Regions from separate parts of the Homo sapiens genome. Here regions 1, 2 and 3 are each linked to region 4. The links are contacts of gene promoters, found by promoter capture Hi-C in blood cells and fetal thymus (Javierre and others, 2016). All regions are on one chromosome and are shown on one strand. The core of a region is centred on a gene start or on the middle of the fragment in contact, and the rest is flanking DNA. Distances in the headings are between cores, read along the strand shown. Region 1 has its middle 50 kb from the start of NFIA-AS2. Region 2 has its middle 9.2 kb from the start of NFIA. Region 3 overlaps NFIA (nuclear factor I A). Region 4 holds the start of NFIA-AS1 (NFIA antisense RNA 1).

Evidence for each region. The method cuts DNA at HindIII sites, captures the fragments that hold promoters and counts their contacts. A CHiCAGO score of 5 or more calls a contact.
Region 1: a fragment that was not itself captured here is called in contact with the fragment with the promoter of NFIA-AS1 in region 4 in 1 of 17 cell types (total CD8 T cells); the score reaches 5.3 in total CD8 T cells.
Region 2: a contact is called between a fragment that was not itself captured here and the fragment with the promoter of NFIA-AS1 in region 4, in 1 of 17 cell types (monocytes). The highest score is 5.3, in monocytes.
Region 3: a fragment that was not itself captured here is called in contact with the fragment with the promoter of NFIA-AS1 in region 4 in 1 of 17 cell types (erythroblasts); the score reaches 6.4 in erythroblasts.

Annotation. Positions count from the first base shown.
Region 1 is chr1:61,018,163-61,023,761 of GRCh38, reverse strand. No RefSeq gene overlaps it. Among named protein-coding and RNA genes, the nearest start is that of NFIA-AS2, 50 kb to the right of the region's middle. The HindIII fragment of the contact is 936 bases long and covers 2,888-3,823 here.
Region 2 is chr1:61,070,464-61,076,340 of GRCh38, reverse strand. No RefSeq gene overlaps it. Among named protein-coding and RNA genes, the nearest start is that of NFIA, 9.2 kb to the left of the region's middle. The HindIII fragment of the contact is 3,582 bases long and covers 1,996-5,577 here.
Region 3 is chr1:61,095,510-61,101,380 of GRCh38, reverse strand. The region is part of intron 2 of NFIA (nuclear factor I A); the gene reads right to left. Among named protein-coding and RNA genes, the nearest start is that of NFIA, 16 kb to the right of the region's middle. The HindIII fragment of the contact is 805 bases long and covers 2,231-3,035 here.
Region 4 is chr1:61,251,417-61,257,792 of GRCh38, reverse strand. NFIA-AS1 (NFIA antisense RNA 1) reads left to right here and starts at 4,275. Exons shown (of 4, transcript NR_104180.1): 1 at 4,275-4,382. All of the region lies in intron 2 of NFIA (nuclear factor I A), which reads right to left. The HindIII fragment of the contact is 2,782 bases long and covers 1,897-4,678 here.

The DNA.
Region 1 (5,599 bases), core at 2,106-4,605, 230 kb after region 4:
TCATTGTCTGGGACTTGTTTCCTGTTAGAGAAGCTACCTGCTGGAGTCCTGCTCCGAGTGGATGCGTCACATGCTTGGCGATGATTCTTATCTCACTGGGAATCTCCAGACACTATAGCCCACTACTGGATTTGAACCCTTTGGGTACTGACTTAAAGGTTGAATTACTCTTTCTTGAAACACAATGCCCTACCTAACCCAGATAATAGAATGAAGATGTGAAATTAATGCAAGCAGCTTGAGGCCTTTCTCTATTCCTAAATAGTAATTTAAAAGGGAGGGCCCGGTGTGGTGGCTCATGCCTGTAATCCCAGCACTTTGGGAAGCTGAGGCGGGTAGATCACGAGGCCAGGAGTTTGATGGTGAAACCCCGTCTCTATTAAAAATACAAAAATTAGCAGGCATGTTGGCACACTCCTGTAATCCCAGCAACTCAGGAGGCTGAGGCAGGAGAATCTCTTGAACCTGGGTGGCAGGGCTTGCAGTGAGCTAACATCCCACCATTGCACTCCAGCCTGGGCAAGACAGCAAGACTCCATTTCAAAAAAAAAAATGGAGGACTGTTTATTGTATCTCTATGTAAGGGCTCATCAGCCAAGTGGGCTTATATATTATCTTTGACTGGGGGTAAGACGGAGATTAGGACTGGTTCTCAAACATGGTGAGGAAGGATCTAAACTCTCTTGAGGAACTTTTTTTTTTCCAAGATCGAGTCTTGCTCCTTTGCCCAGGCTGGAGTTCAGTGGCACTATCTTGGCTCACTGCAACCTCTGCCTCCCGGGTTTAAATGATTCTCATGCCTCAGCCTCCTGAGTAGCTGGGATTACAGGTGTGTGACACCACACCCAGCTAATTTTTGTATTTTTAGTAGAGACGGGGTTTAGCCTTGTTGGCCAGGTTGGTCTCGAACTCCTTGGCCTCAAGTGATCCTCCCGCCTCGGCCTCCTGAAGTGTTGGGATTACAGGCATGAGCCATTGCACTGGCTGAGAAACTTATTCCTAATGTGGTCCCTACATTCCACAACCAGAGCTTCTGTTTCAGTAGGTCTGAGGTGAAGTCTGGAAACGTGTATTTTTAGTAAGTGCTTCAGGTCATTCTAATGCATTTGTTTAGCTGACTTATATTTGAGAATTCCTTGTCTAGATGATTTTTCAAGGTCTCTTTTAGCCTTTGGAATGTAAAATTCCAGAATGAATAGAAAGCTGGAATACAAAGAAATAACTTAGAGCAAGGTAGTACTTTATCAAAGCATTTCCCAGGTCAATACATGACTGGCAAAAGCACAACCTGGCATGCTTATGTAAGGTTTAGTCTAGATTTTAATTTAAATGGTGTGCTAGCTAGTTCTAGTTTATAGAAACCAAAGAATTAGTAGCAGTGTCCATGTCAGAAAATGGAATCACATTTTAATTATCACAGCCTCAATTTGTGAACAGTCTGGGAAGGGCTTCTGGCATGCTGGTCTCATTTAATTTACTATGAAATATTAATACTTTCTAGGAAAGATGGATAACTGACACTTTCAACAATGTTTATTTGCAAGAATGAACTACCTTGGCCAGGTGCGGTGGCTCACACCTGTAATCCCAGCACTTTGGGAGGCTGAGGTGGGCAGATTGCCTGAGGTCAGGAGTTCGAGACCAGACTGGCCAACATGGTAAAACCCGGTTTTTACTAAAAATACAAAAAAATTAGCCTGGCGTGGTGGAAGGTGCCTATAATCCCAGCTACTTGGGAGGCAGAGGCATGAGAATCGCTTGAATCTGGGAGGCAGAGGTTGCAGTGAAGTGAGATTGTGCCACTGCACTGCAGTCTGGGTGACAGAGCAAGACTCCGTGAGGAAGAAGGAGAAGGAGAAGAAGAAGAAGAAGAACAAAAGGGTAGCTAACATCTTCTAGGTGCTAACTAGAATTTCAGAATTGCTGGAAAAAGAAGTATCCTTGTAGGGAAGACCTAAATCTTGGAAACGACAGCTCAGGAGAGAAAATGCCATTGTCCTGTATTTAGCCGAGACAGCCTGGGATTTGTGGAGCAAGCTAGCTAGTGTCAAGGAGGCTGCAGGCACTGCACATTAAAAGGCATCTCCTCTTTGATGAGTGTTTAATTTGGCCTTGTAAAGTGTATGAAGTGCAGGCATTTAATTTGTTTGACAGAAGCAAGCCCAAAGCACCTTCTGTAATACCGTGCCACACGGTTTCATGACTCTTACCACATGTTAGGCATAGTCTGGGAGTCTATTAAATAAGCTTTGAGTCAAAACACTAGTTTGACAAAGATCTGTTTTAATTAAAAGACACAAACCTCTCTCTCCTGAGCCTCAAGCAGGGACATAAAGGAGAGCACCATCCACCCGCCTGGCTAAGGAACACTTTGCTCTTTCCTGTAAGAGGACAAAGATGCTTTGGGGCTGGCAGGTAGAAATCTATCAGTGGGTCCTGGAATGTCTGATGTTGCTGGCCTCCTGTAAGATTCTCTTTCTGCCAACAATGCTGGCTATCTGCCACAATATCAATTATCCCTAGCTGAGACAGTAAATGATCTAGGATACCACTTTTTAAATATTATGTTTTAACAAACTAGAATTAGGAAACTCTACAAAATTAATGCACTTTGACACCCCCTGCATCAATATCCAGATACTCATAAATCAACCATACCCATCAGGCTCTTCTGCCTCAAGCATGTTAAGTGACCATCTTTAAAAAATGTATTAAATATTTCTCCAATTGGAGTATTCTATATTTCCCTGTTATGGAGAATGCACACCTCTTGGAGAAGTGTGAGAGATGACAGAGTTGGCTATATCTAACTTGGAGTCCAAATCATGCCTCCTTTTTTTGGATTGTCCACCCTGACTTTCCATTTCTTCAGCAAAGGGCCCAAGCTTTCCTGTCCATCTCATCTCCTGCCACTTTCCCACTTGTTCTGTTCTCTACACTCCAGACACACTGGTCTTCTTGAGTTCCTCTATTATTTTATTTTATTGAGATAAAGTCTCGCTCTATTGCCCAGTCTGGAGTGCAGTGGTGTAATCTTGGCTCACTGCAACCTCCATCTCCCAGGCTCAAGTGATTCTCCCTCTTCAGCCTCCTGAGTACCTGGGACCATGGGCATGTGCCACTATGCCAGGCTAATTTTTGTATATATATTTTTTGAGACAGAGTCTTACTCTGTCACCAGGTTGGGTGCAGTGGCATGATCTCGGCTCACTGCAACCTCTGCCTCCCGGGTTCAAGTGATTCTCCTGCCTCAGCTTCCCAAGTAGCTGGGACCACAGGTGCATGCCATCATGCCCAGCTAATTTTTGTATTTTTAGTAGAGACAGGGTTTCAACATGTTGGCCAGGCTGGTCTTGAACTCCTGGGCTCAAGCAATCCACCCGCCTTGGCCTCCCAAAATGCTGGGATTATAGGCATGAGCCACTGTACCGGGCCTCTTGAGTTCTTTTAAGAGCTTTATGTGCTCTTCTGCCTCAGGACATTTAAAAAAGGCACCTGTCTACTGAGAAATCCCATCTGACTGCTAGCCCCTACACCCCCAAACACCTTCTACTGGTTTCTTTGTTCATTCATTCATTCATTCATTCATTCATTCAACAAGTATTACCGAGGGGCTGTATATGCAGAACACTTGAGTGAATGCAACTGATTTAAAAATTCTCATAGCATCTACATTCTAATTGAGGGGGAATCAGACCATAAATAAACATAATAAATAAGTAGATTATATAGTACATTAGAAGATGATAATTGATACAGAAAAACATAAATGGGTAAGGAGTATGCAAAATGCTTGCAATTTTAAATAGGATGGTAGGAAGCTTTTATTGATACTGTTGCATTTAAATTAATTCTCAATTGTCCTTAGACTTCAGCTCAAATGAGCTTTCTCAGGAACATCTTACCTTCCAGGATAGTTCTATCAGTGAGTCTGAGAGTGTGTGACTAGGTCATTCCCTATTATATGCTCTCAGCATTCCCAGTACTTTTCATTCATAGTTCTTAGTACCATTTGTAATTGCATACTCATGTGATTATTTATTAAAGAATGTCCTGTCTGCTACAGTAAGCTCTATGAAGGCAAGGGTGAGATACTTTTTGATTACTGCTCTCTCTCCAAAGCTAGTTGAATTGAAGTGCTCAATACATATTTGAATTGAATGAATGAAAGAACCTGTGCAGTATGGATAAAATATATACATCCAGACTACTTTAAGAGAATCAGTTGGGATGATGAATGCATGAATCCTTTTTATAAATTGCATAGTTCTATAAACATGCCAGGCATCATTATTTCTGTGGATAAAAAACACTCTTGTATTAACATGGTTCTGTTTATTGATGTTGTATGCTCCTGAATCTCCTTTATGGAGGCAGTGTGGTTTAGAGGACTGCCTGGGATAACTCAGCTCTGTCACTTACCTCGTGACCTCACTATTTCTCCAGCTCCTCCTCTATAAAATGGGATGATAATAGTACCAACCTCACAGAGATGTCATGAGGATTAGAAGAGTTAACGTCTCTCAGGTGCTTAGAGTAAGGACTGAATAGAGTAAGTACTCAGTACATATTATCATGATTACGGTTGTTGTTGTTATTATCTGCCAAGCTTTTAACTGCATCTAGGTATTTATTGATTGACTGAAATCTTTCTTGGTTTCTTCCTAAAGATGAGTGAACTAGAAATTCATTGTTCAGTGATGTTTCTTTAACATAAGTCAAAGAGTAAGGCTGACTCTCAGGCTCCATCTTATAGCTTCAGCACCTGTTCTAGTTCATCAGTGACTTCTGTTTTATCTTGGTGGATCCTTTTCAATTGTTTTGACAGCTAGAAGTTAAACTAGAGCCATGGATGACTGAGAAAACTAGGTTCAAATCCTGGTTCTGCCACTTACTGGTTGAAAGACTTTAGGCAAGGTATAAAACTCTTTGGGGTTCACACTTTCACTCATAAAATGAGAATTATAATAGCTCCTTCACTAGTTTGCAATGAGGATTGAGTGAGATGATATCCTTGAAGGGCCAGTGCAGAGAGAAGTTCTACAAATATTAGTTTAGTTCTGCTTACCTTGCCCTTTCCTCAGGAGCAAATGTAAATTTTAAAAGAAACCTGGAGACACAATGACATTGTGGTCTGCAAAGAAGTCTCTGACAAGCATTCTAAATCAGGGGGTTAAATTCAACACATGTGGAACCCACTATACATGCCCTAAAATAATTCATATTATTGGCAGAAATCAGTGCAAGAAGCACAGTGTTGGGCTGGGCACGGTGGCTCATGCTTGTAACCCCAGCACTTTGGGAGGCCAAGGTGGGCGGATCACCTGAGGTCGGGAGTTCGAGACCAGCCTGACCAATATGGAGAAACCCCATTTCTACTAAAAATACAAAATTCAGCCAGGCTTGGTGGCACATGCCTGTAATCCCAGCTACTCGGGATGCTCAGGCAGGAGAACTGCTTGAACGCAGGAGGCTGAGGTTGTGGTGAGCCACGATTGTGACATTGCACTCCAGCCTGGGAAACAAAAGCGAAACTCAGTCTCAAAAAAAAAAAAAAAAAAAAAAGGCACAGTGTTTATTTGTTGTTCTGTCATCCAGG
Region 2 (5,877 bases), core at 2,537-5,036, 180 kb after region 4:
CATTAACCCAGACTCTTTAAGACCATGTAGTCTGGATATTTCAATGTCAACAGTTTAAGTGTTTGTTTTAAACAACAAAATAGCCATTGGTGCAGAGCAAGGAAATAAGACTCTGAAGGGAGGGAGTTATCTCTTTAAATGGAAAGCACACAACCAGGCTACTGCGGTTTTCGTTGTTGTTTTTAAAAATGTGATTGCTGGCTGGGCACGGTCGCTCACGCCTGTAATCCCAACACTTTGGGAGGCCGAGGTGGGCGGATCACAAGGTCAGGAGATCGAGACCATCCTGCCCAACATGGTGAAACCCCGTCTCTACCAAAATTACAAAAATTAGCCGGGTGTGGTGGCGCGTGCCTGTAATCCCAGTTACTTGGGAGGCTGAGGCACGAGAATCGCTTGAACCCAGCAGGCGGAGGTTGCAGTGAGCCAAGATCACACCACTGCACTCCAGCCTGGTGACAGAGCGAGACTCTGTCTCAAAAAAAAAAAATTGTGTTTGCTTTGAGTCAGTTAAGGAGCATAGGACATTTTGCTGAATAACTTAGAGGAAAACGTGTGCTTACCTGGCTTGATTAAAAGTATCCAGTAAGAAGTCAAGAGTAATAGGAAGCAACCTGGCAGTTGTCTGATTTTCTTAACTGTCCTTGGTGAAGGTACCTAATTAATTAATAACAGGACCTTGCATAGTTAAATTGGAGGTTAGAGAAACCTCATATTTTATGTTGAATCACATTTTTTGCTTCGGTCTTGCTCTCTACAACTAGTCGACTGATGTAGCCGTACTGTGGCTGGCCTTGGCATTAGCTTTGCTGTTCTGGTCTGCCCCTCATAGATGCAGATATGCTCTTGGCTGTAGCAAGCCTGTGGCATTTAATCCTAGCCTCCTCCACTGAGCATCCATTTCCACTTGGTGTACTACTCTCACCTAGAAATACACTTGATGTGATGTAGCGGCTTCAGTTTAAATAAAAAATAATACTTTGGGAGGCCGAGGCAGGTGGATCACCAGGTCAGGATCTCGAGACCAGCCTGGCCAACATGGTGAAACCCCGTCTCTACTAAAAATACAATAATAATAATAATAACAATTTTTTTAAGTAACCAAAAAAAAAAGTTTTGGGCCTGGTTTAGCTGGTACTAGACTGTGTGACCTTGAGATGGTTACATAACACCTGTAAAACAAGACATCAACCTATTGTGAGAGTGGAAGGTTTTGTCAAAAGGTAAGAACCGTTGAGATGCAGAAGAGGTGTCAACCTGTACTGCATTGCTCTGTAGATACTATGGTCTGAATAATCTCTGATGCTAAGCAGGCCAGGCCTTGTAAGTAGGTGGTAACAGTGAATTTTGTGTGCATTGTCTGTAGTGCATTAACTCAGTTTGATATGGTAGGTTGGCACCATTTCCAAAGTGACCTTTTATATCTCCATCTAGTCAACAACAACATAGCATTGACAACATAGCATTGGCTTCAGAGTCCAACTTAGGTTTTTTTTTTTGGACAGAGTTTTTGCTCTTGTTGCCCAGGCTGGAGTGCAGTGCTGCGATCTCGGCTCACTGCAACCTCTGCCTCCTGGGTTCAAGTGATTCTCCTGCCTCAGCCTCCTCAGTAGTTGGGACTACAGGCACCCGCCACCATGCCTGGCTAATTTTTGTATTTTTAATAGAGACCGGGTTTCACCATGTTGGGCAGGATGGTCTCAATCTCCTGACCTTGTGATCCGCCCACCTCGGCCTCCCAAAGTGCTGGGATTACAGGTGTGAACCACCAAGCCTGGCCTCAACTTAGGTTTTAATGTTGGTTCTACCATGTGTATTTTTTTTTTTTTCAGGCAAAACCTCTGCAAGCTTTAGATTTCTGATCTGGAAAATGGGAGATAGATAACATATGTAAATTAACTAGTACATTATGTGTGCTCAATATAGGCTCATTGAAGGTGCTAAGAGCTAGGGATACAGCAAAGAATGAGACATTATCCCTGCCTCTAACAAGCTTTCAGTGCAATGGGGTAGATAAGACATAAAGCTAACTAATAGTGTAATGTAATAAGCGTTATGTCCAACATATATATATATATATATATACACACATATATATGTATAAAATGGGCAGTGGTGATAGAATGATTCATTTTGTCTGGGTCATTAAGGCAGAGACAGTCATTAAGGCCTAAAAAAGAGACATTTGTGTTGGGACAGAAATATGCATTAGTCAGGTAGACAGGTGAGGGGCAGGGCATTCCTCTCCAGGAAAACGCAATGATGTCAGTGTATGCAACAGGCCAAAGAATGGGGATGTATTCAATTGTGGCTAGTTGTCTAGTTAGGATTAGCTTGTATAGTCATGTGTCACTTCATGACAGGGATACATTCTGAGAAATACGTTGTTAGGCGATTTAGTCGTTGTAAGAACATCGTAGAGTATACTTGCAGAAACCTAGATGGTATAACCTTATACACACCTAGGCTATGTGGTATAGCTTATTGCTCCTAGGCTCAGCTCTGTACAGCAGGTTACTCTACTGAATATTATAGGCTACTGTAACACAATGGTAAGCATTCCTATATCTAAACATAGAAAAGGTACAATAAAAATACAGTATTATATAATCTTATAGGACCACCATTGTATCTGTGGTCTCTCATTGACTGAAACGTCCTTAGGCGGCACTGGACAGTATTACTGTAACTAGAGATGACCTTAGAAAGGCAGGCAGAGCCAAGGTGGTGGAGAGCATTGTGAACCCTTTGAACCTTCACTGGAGGGGCTGTATTTAACCAAGAGATATACAAAATAAGATTTACAAATTAGAAATATCATTCTAGTAGTGGAGGCAAAGAGAGTGGTTAGAAAGATATGAGAAAAGATGCAGTCCTGAGCTATGGCACCGCTGGAATGAATGAGAAAAAGAGAGAAAGGGAAGAAGGAGTAGAGCATGAAAGAGAGGTAAGGAAACAAGGAAGACCCTCCGCTGATACTGGTTTTCGGGGACTTTGATCAACAGAGGCAATTTAGGAGTAAATTTTTCCCAGACTCTTCTCAAAATTCAAATAGCCAGAAGATGTATAATAAGATCTGTTAGTGAAATAGGCTCTACTTACTCCACAAATTGCTGCTTCTAATATCCTTAAACCTAATATTAAATAATATTAAAATAATACCAGTAATAGTAGTTCACATGGCTTAAACGTTTACACTACATCAATTCTTCCCACCTTTGTGAATTTGCATTCCAGTAACCTTGGCTCCACCATGCCACTGGAAATCAGGTGCAAATCTAGTAGGGTGAATTTGGGTTGCTAACCCCATTGAGAGCCTCATGTTTCTGTGTAGGTTGGCTTTATGCCTTGAAAATAGTAGGCTCTTCCAGGAATTTTGCTTTGTTGACCCAAATAAAAACTTAATCCTCTTGCAAGACATTGATATGGAAACTAGAATGTTAGAGTTTTACAGAATTAGAAACATAATTCAAAATTGCAATATTTTTCTAATAATCAACTTAAGTTTTAATTTGTGAACGAAGTTGAATGTTGACACACAGAGATATATTTCACATTTTCTTGATTTGCCTGTATAAATCCTAGATCATTCAAATCACTTTTTAGACAAAGTAATCAACACAGGCATTCAAAGGACACACATTGCAATATAAATGATAAACACTACAAGCGAAATTAATCTAGGAATTGATGAGGTTCCCAAATAAGCAAGTTGTGGCAGACTATTGCCTCCCCACTCCCAAATCTGTTCTTTCTCTATTCTTAGATACACAGATGAGCTATTTAAAGTCAATATTAGGCTGAGCACAGTGGCTCACACCTGTAATCCCAGCACTTTGGGAGGCCAAAGCAGGCAGCTCGCTTGAGGCCAGGTGTTCGGGATCAGCCTGGCCAACATGGTGAAACCCCATCTCCACTAACAATACAAACATTCTCTGGGTTTGGTGGCACACATCTGTAGTCCCAGCTACTCAGGAGGCTGAGGCAGTAGAATCGCTTGAACCTGGGAGGCGGAGGTGCAGTGAGCTGAGATCATGCCATTGCACTCCCGCCTGAGCAAAGGAGCGAGACTCCAGCTCAAAAAAAAAAAAAAAAAAAAAAAAGTTCCTCAAGAGAGTTTGATCCCTCCCTACCATGTTTGAGAACCAATCCTATTAAAATAAAATCCTAATAAAATAAAAATAAAGTTAATATTTCCTAGCCTTCCTTGCAACTAAATATGACACATGATTAAGTTCTGTGAGCAGAATTGTTGGCTGCAACTTCATGACACTTGCTTAAAAGAAATTTGTCCTGGGCCAGGCATAGTGGCTCATGCCTATAACCCCAGCCTTTTCAAAGGCCAAGGCAGGAGGATCACTTGAGCCACAGGAGTTCAAGACAAGTCTGGGCAACATAGATAGACTTTGTCTCTGCAAAAAATAAAAATAAAAAATTTAGCTGGGCATGATGCCACACATCTGTAGTCCCTGATACTCAGGAGGCTGAGGCAGGAGATTGCTTGAGCCCTGGAGATTGAGGCTGCAGTGAGCTATGATCACACTACTGCATTCCAGCCTGGGCAATAAGAGTGAGATCCTGTCACAAAAAAAAAAAAAAAGGAAAGAAAGAAAGAGAGAAAGAGGAGAAAGAAGATAAAGAGGAGAAAGAAATGAGTGAAGGAGGGAAGGAGAAAAGGAAAAGGAAGGAAAGGAAGGAAGGGAGAAAGGTGGTGGGGAGCAGCAAGGGGAGAGAGAGAAGAAAGAGAAAGAAAGGAAAGAGAGAAAGAGAGAGAGAGAAAGGAAAGAAAGAAAGAAAGAGAGAAAAGAAAGAAAAGAAAGAAAGAAAGATAGATTTGTCCTGAACTTGTGGCCCTTTCCAAAGACAGCAATGATACTGAAATACCAACTTCAACTACAAAGACCCGGACAATTCCCTGGGAGACAAAAGAGCTACGGGATGAAAGGAACCTGCGTTCCTAAATAACCTCCTGGAGCAGAGCCGCTTCTCCAGCATAGATTATATTTAGGCTACCGTAGTTGTGTTTTTTTTAAGCTACAGTGTTTTCAGGTCTCCGATACAGCAGCCTAATCTTCTCTATAACTAATAATCAAGATTACAAAACAATCTCATGGTATATTTGAATTGTTTTCTCTCTGAAATCTCATGGCCTTTCTCCAATTTGGTATATAATATATCTAATTTTTTTATCAGCCTACTTTTCCAGACTCCCCTCCTGCTCAGTCTCTCTCGGCTGCCTCCTCATCCTAGCCACAAAAAATGACTGAGTTTTCCCTTTTTATCACCTCCCAAATATACCATACATGTTCATCCCTCTTTTTCCTTGTTTGTATGATTCTTTTTGCCCAGAAGACCCTGAAGTTGTCTCCCTGTTTCACCCATTTTCTCAAGGACCAATTTAATGTTGTTTCCCAACTCCCATAGGCGGAATTGGTCAATCTCCTCTGTGTTCTCTAACATCTTACACTCATCTAAGACCGCTCTCTTCACATTCTACATCAGTTATTTATTTGTGTGTCTGTCCACTGAGCTATGGGCTTCTTGAAAATGCAGTTATTTTATTCATCCTTGAAAGCTTATAAGCAAAGTGCCACAGTAGATCTTCAGTAAATGTTTGGTGAATTAATATGTAAATGACAGGAACAATGGTTACTTTTTCTAGACTTGCGTTCTGATAGAAAACAAGGTCAGGAGTATGGCTAATGCAAGACAGGGCATTATCACAAGGGTGGAATTGTCAGTATAACTAGCAGGGCATTGAATTTGCCTTTCACAGGCCTTCCACACAGGTCATCACCTTTAACCTTCCTACTGCATAAGTGGCTTAGACTTTGTCATTCCCATCACAAAAATGAAGAAACTAAGGCTCAGAAAACT
Region 3 (5,871 bases), core at 1,384-3,883, 150 kb after region 4:
TCTTGTTGCCCAGGCTGGAGTGCAATGGCGCGATCTCAGCTCACTACAACCTTTGCCTCCCGGGTTCAAGCGATTCTCCTGCCTCGGCCTCCCGAGTAGCTGGGATCGCAGGCATGCACCACCACACCCGGCTAATTTTGTATTTTCAGTAGAGACGGAGTTTCTCCATATTTGTCAGGCTGATCTCGAACTCCCGACCTCAGGTGATGTGCCTGCCTCAGCCTCCCAAAGTGCCGGGATTACAGGCATGAGCCACTGTGCCTGGCCAGGTGAACTATTAAATAATAGAAAGCACCTGCACCATCTTCTGTCTGCTTGAATTTTCTTTACATTTACAAAAATATTTTTGATATAAGAAAACAAAAAATTTAACACAATAGAAATATAGTCAAACGATAGAATTCCTCGACATATACCAATTTTATGGTAAAAAAAAAAAAAGCAATGTTAACAACTGGTTCTACAAATGTTTAAAACTTCATATAGGCCAGGTTTGGCAGCTCATACTTAGAATCTCAGAACTTTGAGAGGCTGAGGTGGGAGGATCACTGGAAGCTGGGAGTTCAGTGACCAGCCTGGGCAATGTAGTGAGACTCTATCTCCACAAAATATTTTTTTAAGTTAGCCCAGGGTGTTGGGATTCACCTTTAGTCCCAGCTACTTAGGAGGCTGAAGTAGGAGGATTGTGTGGGCCCAGAAGTTTGAGGCAGCAGTGAGCTACGACTGCACCACTGCACTCCAGCTAGGCAACAGAGCAAGACCCTGTCTCAAAATAATAATAATCACCATAAATTTTTTATAAGTGTTTTAAAAACTTCATACAGGCTATTAGTTGAAAGGACTCTAATTTAAAAACATCAAATGCTCTAAAATCTTGATTTCTGAGGAAATTATATCTGAGATGGCACTGACTTGTCTCAAGGTATTTTCTTCAGTTTTGCATCTCGGGAATCTATCACAGTGCCTAAGATTAGTGCTGGAAACCTATCTGCTGAACTGAACTGCCAGTCACACAGTAGAGCTTGTCAATAAAGGTAACCAAAACAGATCTTCTATGCCACCACCACCCAAAGAGCATCCGCACCGATGGAAATGATAACGGTCTACAACTGCTCTCCAACTCACACAAGAAGTTCCCGTCTCCATAGTTTCCGAGATGCATGGACTTAGAATCCTCAAATGTAAAAAAGAAGGTTTGGGCCTTAAGGTTCCCTTCAAGGTAGGAAGCTGAAACTAACACCAGAAAAGAAAAAGCTCTAGTTTCTCACTACTTTTTCAACTACTTTCTAAACAGAGAAAACAATGGCTTTCAGAGTGTTGATGTATTTGCAGAGAATATTTTTCACTCCATCCATAGTTTCAAGTCTAACATACTGGGGATCATCTTAGAGATAAAAACAGGCCATAGAAGGGTCTGGCCTAGTTACTAATCCTAACCACTTATTAACCATATAACCCTGGACAAGTTACTCAACCTCTCTGGCTGTTTCCTCACTGGCATAAAGGGAACCATAAAAGCTCCCCTACCTAAAATTTGAAGTTTATATGAAGGGCTAATTTAAAAACACATAAGAAAAGATAATTTAAATAATATAGTTTTAGGGCAAAAGTCTGGGATCTAAGGGAGTTGGCTTAAATGCTGGCTTTGCCTCTTAACTGTTGGTGTGGCCTCAAGTGAGATGCTCTCTGAACGTCTATTTCCCAAATAACAGGAGTAAGCCACAACGAAGGTCATCTACAATCTCTACTTCTCCAACACCGCCCAACATGAAAAATTCTCCAAAACTTGGAAAAGTTAAAAAGGACCAAAAAATTTTTTTAAAAAATGCAAAACCAAAGAAACTCACATCCACAATTTAGAAAATCCAACAAAGCAAATCCTAAGAAATGGTACCCAGATAGGCAACCTCCTTGAATTGCCAAAAGAGTTTAAAGAGTTGGTAATCGAATGCTCTATCACAAAGCAAAATGAATGGTTAATGCTGCTCTGTCCTGAGTTTTAGACTGGGTGACTTGATAGTAAAAAGCCCAAAAATATGAATCTATGTTCCTCTCCAATCTGTCTGTTTCCCTCCAATTCTAATGTCTCAAAACACAGCTTCACTTATTCATCGTCCCCACCCCACTCCAGCACCTCCAAGATTCAACCGCACATAAAGTAAAAAGCTATGCATAATCAGTCTTTATACAGCCAAACTGAAAATGTCTTTCTTTGAAGAATTACAAAGCTTTCTGTCTGAAACCTCTGACCTTTCTAGAGAAATCAGAGTTACTGTAGTTTAAAAATGTAGGTGGTAAAAGTACAAAGGATTACATTTATCCATTTTGCATGTTTGTCGTCTTTTCTGGGGCCAGGGGCAAATATCTTTAGAACAATTAGTTCTTCAACCATAACATTTTGGACTGAAATATCCTCATTCTCCAAAGAACTGTGTATACATATATATATATGGTTACACAGACATAGAACTGTGTGTGTGTATTACTACATATCCTGGATCCAATGAGATGGCACTTTTTTGTTAATTTTTGTTCCCACTTCATTTTACTGAAACTCTAAAATACATTAATTTTAAAACCTTTTTTAAACGTAAGATTTTTGTCTATACAGTAAGCTAAGAAATCAATAAAAGTTCATTTAAATATTTTTTTAAAACTGTAGTTACTGATTGAATGTGGGAAAAGGAGAGACTTCTAAAAGTATGTTAAGAAAAGAATTCTTAATAAAAGTCCTTGTCACATATTAAGAGGCCATACAATAAAAGTACTGCAATGACTATCTTTCCCTGACAGGAATGCACAACAATAGTTACGCTGTTGAACAGCATCGTTACAAAGACTTCATTCTCAGAAGTTACTTGAAACTACTCTCCAAAAGAGAACCTCTACCATTTAAAAGAAGAGGGGGAGGAAAGCCAACTAAATGAATCCATCAGAAACTTTAGTAACTTAGTAATTTTTATATGGTGTGCATCCATCCAAAAAAATCTTGTCATAGTCATATAAAGACGCAAAATTTCTTATGCAAATAAGCTTTTGCCAAGTTCTTATCTAGAATCTTTGCTTCATTTCAAACACTGGTAACCCACTTATCGTTAGTTCTCAATTATCTAATGTTGAAAATATGTTCTCAGGTACACAGTTTTCCATCAGCAACATGTTAATGTGTAATATTATTTATGAGTTACATTCAGCATAAAAGATATTTACAATTGTCATTGTTAATCTGCTATTATATCTGAGCCTGCACAACTCTGTTTAATAGTATGCAACAGGGGTTTACATGCAGATACACAATATCTTAATTACTTATTCTATAGTAAGCTCTTTAAGCATCTCCATCCCTCATTCATTTGGAATGTTAAAAAATGCCACGAAGAAGGGCTTGATGTCATCTCAACACTGAAAGCCATCTGTCTATGGCCCTCCTTTGACTTTACTCCTTCTGCAGCCAACATTTTCATAAAAGTTGATGAGAATTTGTCAACCTAAGGACTTGTCATGTCAGCTCCTTTGAAAGGCAATGGAATATTTGAAAGTGACAATGATGGGACCCTGTATGTACAATATTCATTTTATGTAGGAGCTTAAAATTAAATAACTAATCCCTTTAAGATTAAACTACACAGAATTCTAAGTGCATCTGACAGGACAAAAGGAGAGAGGCAAGTACATATCACTGCAAAAGAGATGGTTCTGAATTTCTGATATTAAGTGACATGTCTGTAAATTTGAAAATTAAATGAAGATGGGTAATGTAACACTACAGTTTCTATTACCCACTGACAAATACCTTTCCCTACTAAAAATTACTACTCAGATCAAGCTATCTGACTCACCACAGATATATCTTCCCCAACAGCATGAATGCAATGTACTACCCAATCACTGGCTGGCAAAATTACAAAAGGAAATAAAATCAACCAAACCATAGCAACAAAGACAGCCTGAAAATGGCAGCTGCTACACAGACATTCATACAAATTTTTAAATAGTACAGTATTTTTTAAATGTTTCAATTTCGCCTCACTTTTTTTAACCTGTAGAGCACTACAGCAATAGCCATTTAAAAATTTATATGAATACACATGCTCTGAGAACTGTCTATGTCTGGAAACTCACAAGTTATTTGGGACCACCATAAGCACTTACCAGAGATATAAAAATACATACAGTATGGAACTAGATACAGTTGACAATAGGATATGAGTACTATTTTTTTAACCAATTTAATCACTTTTCTTCACATGCCTCAAACTCAGTTTTCCCTTTCTAGCATAACTGATGCTACACAACCCTAACTTTAAGATTCATTAATATTTCTTAAAAAGAAAGCTATTTTATTTTCTTTGCTGTAAGTTCAGTTCAGCTGCTTATTTTTAAATTAAACCTTAGAAGAATTAATATGTATAATGACTTAATATAGTATAAATTATACTTATTGGTCATCTTTTTCTATTTACAATTATAAAAATTATGTTGAGTGAGGCTTTGAGTTTTTGCACTGAAATCATTAAGAACTAATCTTGTCGCCAGGCGCGGTGGCTCACGCCTGTAATCCCAGCATTTTGAGAGGCCGAGGTGGGCAGATCACAAAGTCAGGAGTTCGAGTCCAGCCTCACCAAGATGGTGAAACCCCATCTCCACTCAAAATACAAAAATTAGCCTGGCGTGGTGGTGGGAGCCTGTAATCCCAGCTACTCAGGAGACTGAGGCAGGAGAATTGTTTGAACCCAGGAGGCAGAGGTTGCAGTGAGCCAAGATCATGCCATTGCACTCCAGCCTGGGTGACAGAGCAAGACTCCGTCTCAAAAAAAAAAAAAAAAAAAAAAAGAACTAATCTTGACTAAGTTTAAAGAGTTAGAAACAAAGCTCATGGCCAGGCGTGGTGGCTCATGCCTGTAATCCCAGCACTTTGGCAGGCCGAGGCAGGTGGAACACCTGAGGCCAGGAGTTCGAGACCAGCCTGACCAACATGGAGAAACCCTGTCTCTACTAAAAATTACATGCATGGGGGTGCATGCCTGTAATCACAGCTATTCGGGAGGCTGAGACAGGAGAATCGCTTGAACCAGGGAGGCAGAGATTGCGGTGAGCCGAGATCATGCCACTGCACTCCAGCCTAGAAAACAAGGGCTAAACTCCGTCTCAAACAACAACAACAACAAAAAAAAGCTCACTAATTCACTAATTTAAGGGCACGAAATTGAAACATGTCCATCTTCAATTTTTTTCCTATTTTAATTTTTTAATTTTAAACTAATAAAATTCCATTCTTTTCTCAAACATGATTTTGGCTTTATTTTAAATAATTACACACACAGCCATAACCAAAGGATTTTTTCAGAGCAAAGTGAATTTTACATTTTAAAATCCAATCATTAGGGGAAGTTAGAAATAGATATATATTTCTCTGTCTGTAAATATATATATAAAAATATATGTAATGTATAGGGGAAATTAGAAATATATATTATGTCTTGTACATATAAAACCATGTACAAAAATCTGCATAGTAAAAATTACATGCAATTTAGTTTTTAAAATAGTGCTTAGTTTAATACACAAAGGCTTCTCAAAGCATCTAGAACGAATTAGTTTAACTTTGTCTTAACAACAACTAAAAATCTTAAACCTGTGTCATAATGCTTCTATTCACTAAATTTCAACATTATAAAAACAAAAAAGAACAAATCATTTCAGATTTTGACCCTAACAGTGACAAGTGTAACATCATTTCTCTCTTTATCAAGTGTGGCCTCATTCTGTGGCTAACATCTGAATTTGACAGTGAAATATCTCAATGGGAGGGGTTTGGATTTTGACTTTTTACTTTCCCTTTGATTCAAGACAGGTGTGTGATACCATGAA
Region 4 (6,376 bases), core at 3,026-5,525:
GGCTATGCTGAGCTATGATTGTGTGCCACTGCACTCCAGTTCTGGCAACAGAGTGAGACCCTGGTTTGAAAAATAAATAATAAATAAACAAAGATGAAGGAAACAATATTCAAATAACATGAGAGGGGAAAAAGCTTCACTTACGAACTCAGTAGAGCTGGGTGTGGTGGCTCACGCCTATAATCCCAGCACTTTGGGAGGCCAAAGTAGGCAGATCATGAGGTCAGGAGTTCGAGACCATCCTGGCTAACATGGTGAAACCCCGTCTCTACTAAAAAAATACAAAAATTAGCTGGACATGGTGATGTGTGCCTGTAATCCCAGCTACTCGGGAGCCTGAGTCAGGAGAATTGCTTGAATCCGGGAGGCAGAGGTTGCAATGAGCCAAGATCATGCCACTGCACTCCAGCCTGGGTGACAGAGGGAGACTCTGTCTCAAAAAAAAAAAAAAAAAAAAAAAAAACAACGCAGTAAAAAATATAAAAAACAAAATCATGACTGGAGACAATTCTCTACCTCTGCACAAACATGCTTATCCTGCTACAGAGGACTAGTTAACTGAGCTGAGACAGCACAGACACACTTCTCTCACATTCCCACAACCTATTCTTGCCTCAATTCTCTGGGTACCTGAGGTAAAACGCAGCTAAGGATATTGGGTTTTCCTCTGGCTGAATAGAGGAACCGATCTTGAAAAACATAAATAAAAGAAACTAATTATTTGCGAATTTGCTAAAATAGATGGACTGTAAAACAACAAAACAAAACAAAACAAAAAACCCAACTGGTAGTCCTTTAATTATAACACTTAAATGCAGCTCTAAGTTGAAAGGTTTTAATTTATTTACCAAATTTATGAAAATGGTACATCTTTCTCTCAAGCCTTGAAGTTCTCGTCCCAGGCTGGCACAAGCACACACACATGCAGTGCCATGTGTATGGCACTGTGAGTGAGTCTTTTTGGGCCCTTACAACAGAGGGTCCTAAATAAATGATACAAGGATCATTTACTGGATCCTTGTATTTTGCTAACTACAGACCTGTGTAAACCATATTCTTGCAATCAAAACATGAAAGTATACAACATACAAGCACACAAACCATGACTGTTAACTTTCCTCTTTCTGTATTTCCCTTTTGACCAAAACATAACAAATAGCAGTATAAAGGTAGAATCTGGGCTCAGAAAATTCTCACTTTCTGGTTTAAAATGAACAACACTTAGGGACTAAACCAAGCTCGTCCAACCCACGGCCCAGGGGCCACATGCAGCCCAGGACAGCTTTGAACACGGCCCAACACAAATTCGTAAACTTTCTTACAACATTATGAGATTTTTTTTTTTTTTTTTTTTTTTTAGATGGAGTCTCACTTTCTCACCCAGGCTGGAGTGCAGAGGTGCGATCTTGGCTCACTGCAACCTCTGTCTCCTCGGTTCAAGCGATTCTCCTGCCTCAGCCTCCTGAGTAGCTGGGATTACAGGCACGCACCACCACACCCAGATAATTTTTTTTGTATTTTTAGTAGAGATGGGGTTTCACCATGTTGGCCAGGCTGGTCTTGAACTCCTGACCTCACCTCAAATGATCCACCCGCCTTGGCCTCCCCAAGTGCTGGGATTACAGGCGTGAGCCACCATGCCTGGCCAACATGCTAAGATTTTTTTGCGATTTTTGTTTTAAGCTCATCAGCTATCGTTAATGTTAGTGTACTTTATGTGTGACCCAAGGCAATTCTTCTTCTTCCAATGTGGTCGAGGGAAGCCAAAAGATTGGACATGCCTGGACTAAACGATATGCTAGGTATTTACAGAGCTAGAAATACTTCCTAGTGAGCTTACATTTGGTCTACCCGAGGGCAGCCTAGCAGCGGCCACATTAGTTGACATGGGAAGCTTGAGCCCCAAATTAAAAATCAACAAGCACAAGATCTGTATTATACAACAAAGTACCGAAGTTTTCATTTCTGTGATATATAAATTGTATGATAGTAAGAATCCTATGATCCCGTGTGAGGTGCCAAGAAAAAAGAGGTATCTTTTCTACTTAGTTTCACAACTGCCAGTCAGGTGCCAAGGTGACTTGAAGACCAAAACTTCCCACCAAAACCAAACCCTAGTTCTATTTCCACTATGGAACACAATAAAAATCTACTCGTAAAAGATTTTGAGTCTCCCACAAAGTAACATACTTTTAATGTGACCACATTTCAAACAGTTTACCCATCACAATAAGATCTGAAATACACATGGCATGTCTCCTTAGTCTGTTTCCCTTATTACACATGTGGTTTCCTCTTTCTAAATTCGGACTTATGCCCCATTTTAGAAGGTCAGGAGAAAGTAACGCATAATGCAAAAGTATTTCAAGCAAATCATATGATATCTGTACTTGATAATTTCTCATGGTTTTACACCAAGAGAATCACTGCATATTGAAGATTACACATTTTTTAAAAGCTAGAACACTGAGCCTTCCTTTCAGACAATTCAAACAAGGAGCGTATTGCTGACACAGCAACACTGTGGTCTCAGACTGTGGGAAATGTCAAATTTATGGTCCTGGGGGTGATTGGTGGATGGTTTTGTGGTGTGTATGGTGTTTTGTTTTGTTTTGTGTGTGCTTTTTCTTTTCTCTTTTGAGTCTCTGACAGAAACAGAGCTCTACAAACTTTCTGGCGACCTCCCAGGAAAACAGAAGGAAGCTGTATCCTGTACTTCCCCTGGGATCTAATGAAATATACAGCCTCTGGGCTTCTTTCAATTTGGACTTTCAGATCGCTAAGCCAGTGAAAAGGGGATCCTAGCTGTCACAAACGTCACATGGTCAGGGTCACCTGCTGCTCGGGGGTTCTCATGCCAGTTGTTGACATAATAAGCCCCCCTTACACTTTAATTACAATTCACAGTGTGCAAACTATGCAATCTGCTTTAAGGCAGACTGTCTTTTAAATCAACACTAAAATTCTACTACTAATATGGCAATGCAATGTAGCAGAGGAAGGGTGTGTCCACATGACTAACTATATGCAGATATCTGCCGTTTGGGAGACAGTGGGTAGCATTTGCCAAAATATAAAATGGTGTTGCTGACCCCAATTCTGGGAGATGGTACTTGAATCTTACTGTGCTCTGAGACTTCTTTCCATAGGCCACAAAAAGGTAATGCAATATACTTCATGTGTAGCATTTTACATTTGTATAACTACTATTTTTTTTCACATGGCTCCATAACTGTTCTATGTACTAATCTTGCCTATCCAACAGAAGGAGTGTTGAAGAACAGTGAATTTCTACTTCCCTATTTCTTCCCCTTTAAACCTAGGGCAGTGCCAGTGATGTTTAACACATGCTTCTAGAGTTGTGTCAATGCTCTATCATTTACTGGATCCTTGTATTTTGCTAACTACAGACCTGTGTAAGCTATATTTTTGCAATCAAAACATGAAAGGTCATTTTAAAACAGAGCCCATTTAAAATGATATGACAATGCAGGGAGCTGTTTAAAAAGTGCTAACACATAATTATAGTCTACAGTTTTCTCCAAAAACAACAGTGGAAATTAGTTACAATTCTATTACAGACAACTGCTATAAACTTAGGTGGGCTAACCTCTGAATGAACTATCCCAGTACTCTGGGAATTGCAATCTCATTTTCAGTGCCACAAATGACGTAAGATGGAACACACAAAACAAACCCACACAAAGTACTTTATGTTTATGAAGTCTTACTCAAACACCTTAGCTGAGCTAACCAGTATGTCTCACTGTAAAACACCACCACCACCAGTAACAACAAAATAAATAATCAAACAAAATAGAAGAAATCCAAATAGAAAAAAAAAGTTTTAAAAATAATAATGCCTATACTTGCTTTAATGAAGGATGTACCTGAATTACAAATGCCATCATGACAGATTAAATTAGCCAATAATTAGTCACTGCTTTATTTTTTTTTAGTGTCAAACAATGGTAGATACCAAGACAAGTAACAACAAAAGGCAAAAGAGTTTATTTTATTTAGACGTGGTCATTCTAACATAAGGAGAAGATGCATTTTCCTTTCAAAAATTGAGGTCTCTTTGGGCAAACTTTCAGTCCTTTGGCTATTAGGGTTTGTCTTCATGAAGGCAGACATAAAGCAATTCTGTTCTCTTCCTTATTTGAACACTTTCAGTCTTCACCTGGCTCTCTGCCACCCCAGCTAAACCACTTGACCTCTGATTACATAACAGTCCCCATCTGTGAGCTCAGCCATCCTCAGGAGATAGGAGGGGCCATGAGAAGCTCAAGTTCACCATGAGCCACAGCAGTAAGCCATGCTTTAGCCTCTGACCTGTGCTCCAATTTTGGTACAATGATTTCTGCCATGTTCTCCAACAGGTAAGCTCTACCTCAAGGACTAACTTCTGTACCTGTATTTGGTCAAGTGCCCTAGCTCATCTGGAACTGGAGATGTTGACTTGCTTTTCCCTACCTGCCTCCCAAGAACAAAATTCTGGCACGGAAACCCAGGCTAGCACGTGGAGCCCTATGACCCACTGACAGACTTCTCTGACACTAACCTTCTGCCTGGATTACTGTCATCTGCTTATGTTCTCTATTTCTTGGTTCTGTCCAACTTTTGGGACATTGAACTGCCAGTTAGACTTCCATGTTGTATAACACTCCACTAAGCTTACCAGCCAGTGCCTATACTCAGAGCATTTGGAACATGGCTGGACTGAACTTCTTTATGGAACTTCAAAACTACCAATCCCAGAATATCAACCTTCACGTAATTTCAGGTCCTGGCCCTTTACACATCTCATCCCAAGATATAAACTCTATCTGCCAATTCCCTTTTTTTCCCTTGGTAGGTAGGAAACAAAACATCTCTAAAACTCTGTAAAGAGTAGGAATACAAAATAGAATAGAAGTTACCTTATCCAGTACTGTTAGGGCCAGTTGTTGATTGGTTAATTTGAAAAAATGGATGAAGAAGATACTCATTAATGAGACATATGCACCTTAAACATTTTAACTTTGAGCATGTGTATGTACATTCTTTGGCCAATCTTTTTATGCAGAGGCAAAAATTTAAATTTAATAATGTCTGTTAATAATTGGAGCTCCACAGCATCTTTCTTATATAATGCGTATCTATAATGCATCATAAAAGATTTCCAGTTCCATTTACTTTAAGTAGTGGGAGAATTTAAAGATATTTCTAAAATAATCTAACAAAACTCTTATTTTTACAACCTTCTCTCATCTTCTGTAGTTATCTCACTGACATGTAATCTGACAGAAATTTTTGTAGCTTGCCTTTACTGATTCTTTCCAAGGCACTGGGTTAGTTTCATAGAAATAAAACTTTTCCATTTTGAACTTGCATGCCATTGGTTCACATAAATTTAATTAAATTACACAATGGTGATACAAATAAGACTAGTATAAACAGGTCCGGAATAACACAACTGACGTGGTAAGCACACAACTGGTAAAAACAATAGTGCTAGGATGTGGTAGTAGGTAACTGTTGGCCATGAAAATTCAACATGCCAAAGGAATCAGTATATTACAAAGAAAACAAAAAGTCTTGGTTCATCTTGCAAGCTGGTTAATACAGAGTTTCTACTATGAGGGTCTATCCAAAGAAAATATAATCCAAATATACATTGAATGGATATTGTGAGTAGGAATTGATGTTTGATGCATAATGCTTGATGCTGTGATACAATGTTGAAAAAGACATCTTTCCCAGCATTCTGGTATAGCTCTAATTTCTAATATCAAAAAGTAATTAGAAATAATTATAAGAAACTCCTCATTGGAGTTACTGTATTTTAAATGGTAACTGAATTGATACCTCTATCTACCTGCTGTAGGAGGCTTAATATTCAAGTTGATCTAAATATATTTAAAGAACACGAAAAATAGTCAGCTTACCTCCTAATACAGTATTTTCAAATTCTGAACTCTATTTATATTTTTGTTATTTTGTATCGTTACTTCTGTTTTCATTAAATACATGATTGCTGAAGCAGTTTTTAAAATTAGAGGCACTGTGTTAATACAAAAAATCAACTGCCATTTTAACATCACGTAGTCTGACAACTGAAAACAATCACATAACAGTCATAATTTTTCAGTATTTTATGATTTTTCAGGTTATGTAACTATCAGTTTTCACGTGATTGTACTTAAGATCAATCTTTTAGCAATAAGAAGCCTTAATCTCAACCTTCTGCTTTTTATCAGTTTACTTATTATCAGCTTCAAAATAAATGTATGACATAATTGTGTTACATATATGACAATAATGATGGTCACAGTAACAGCTAGCATTTATTGAATGTCTAGCAATAAAAATAAAGTGATTTATATATACATAA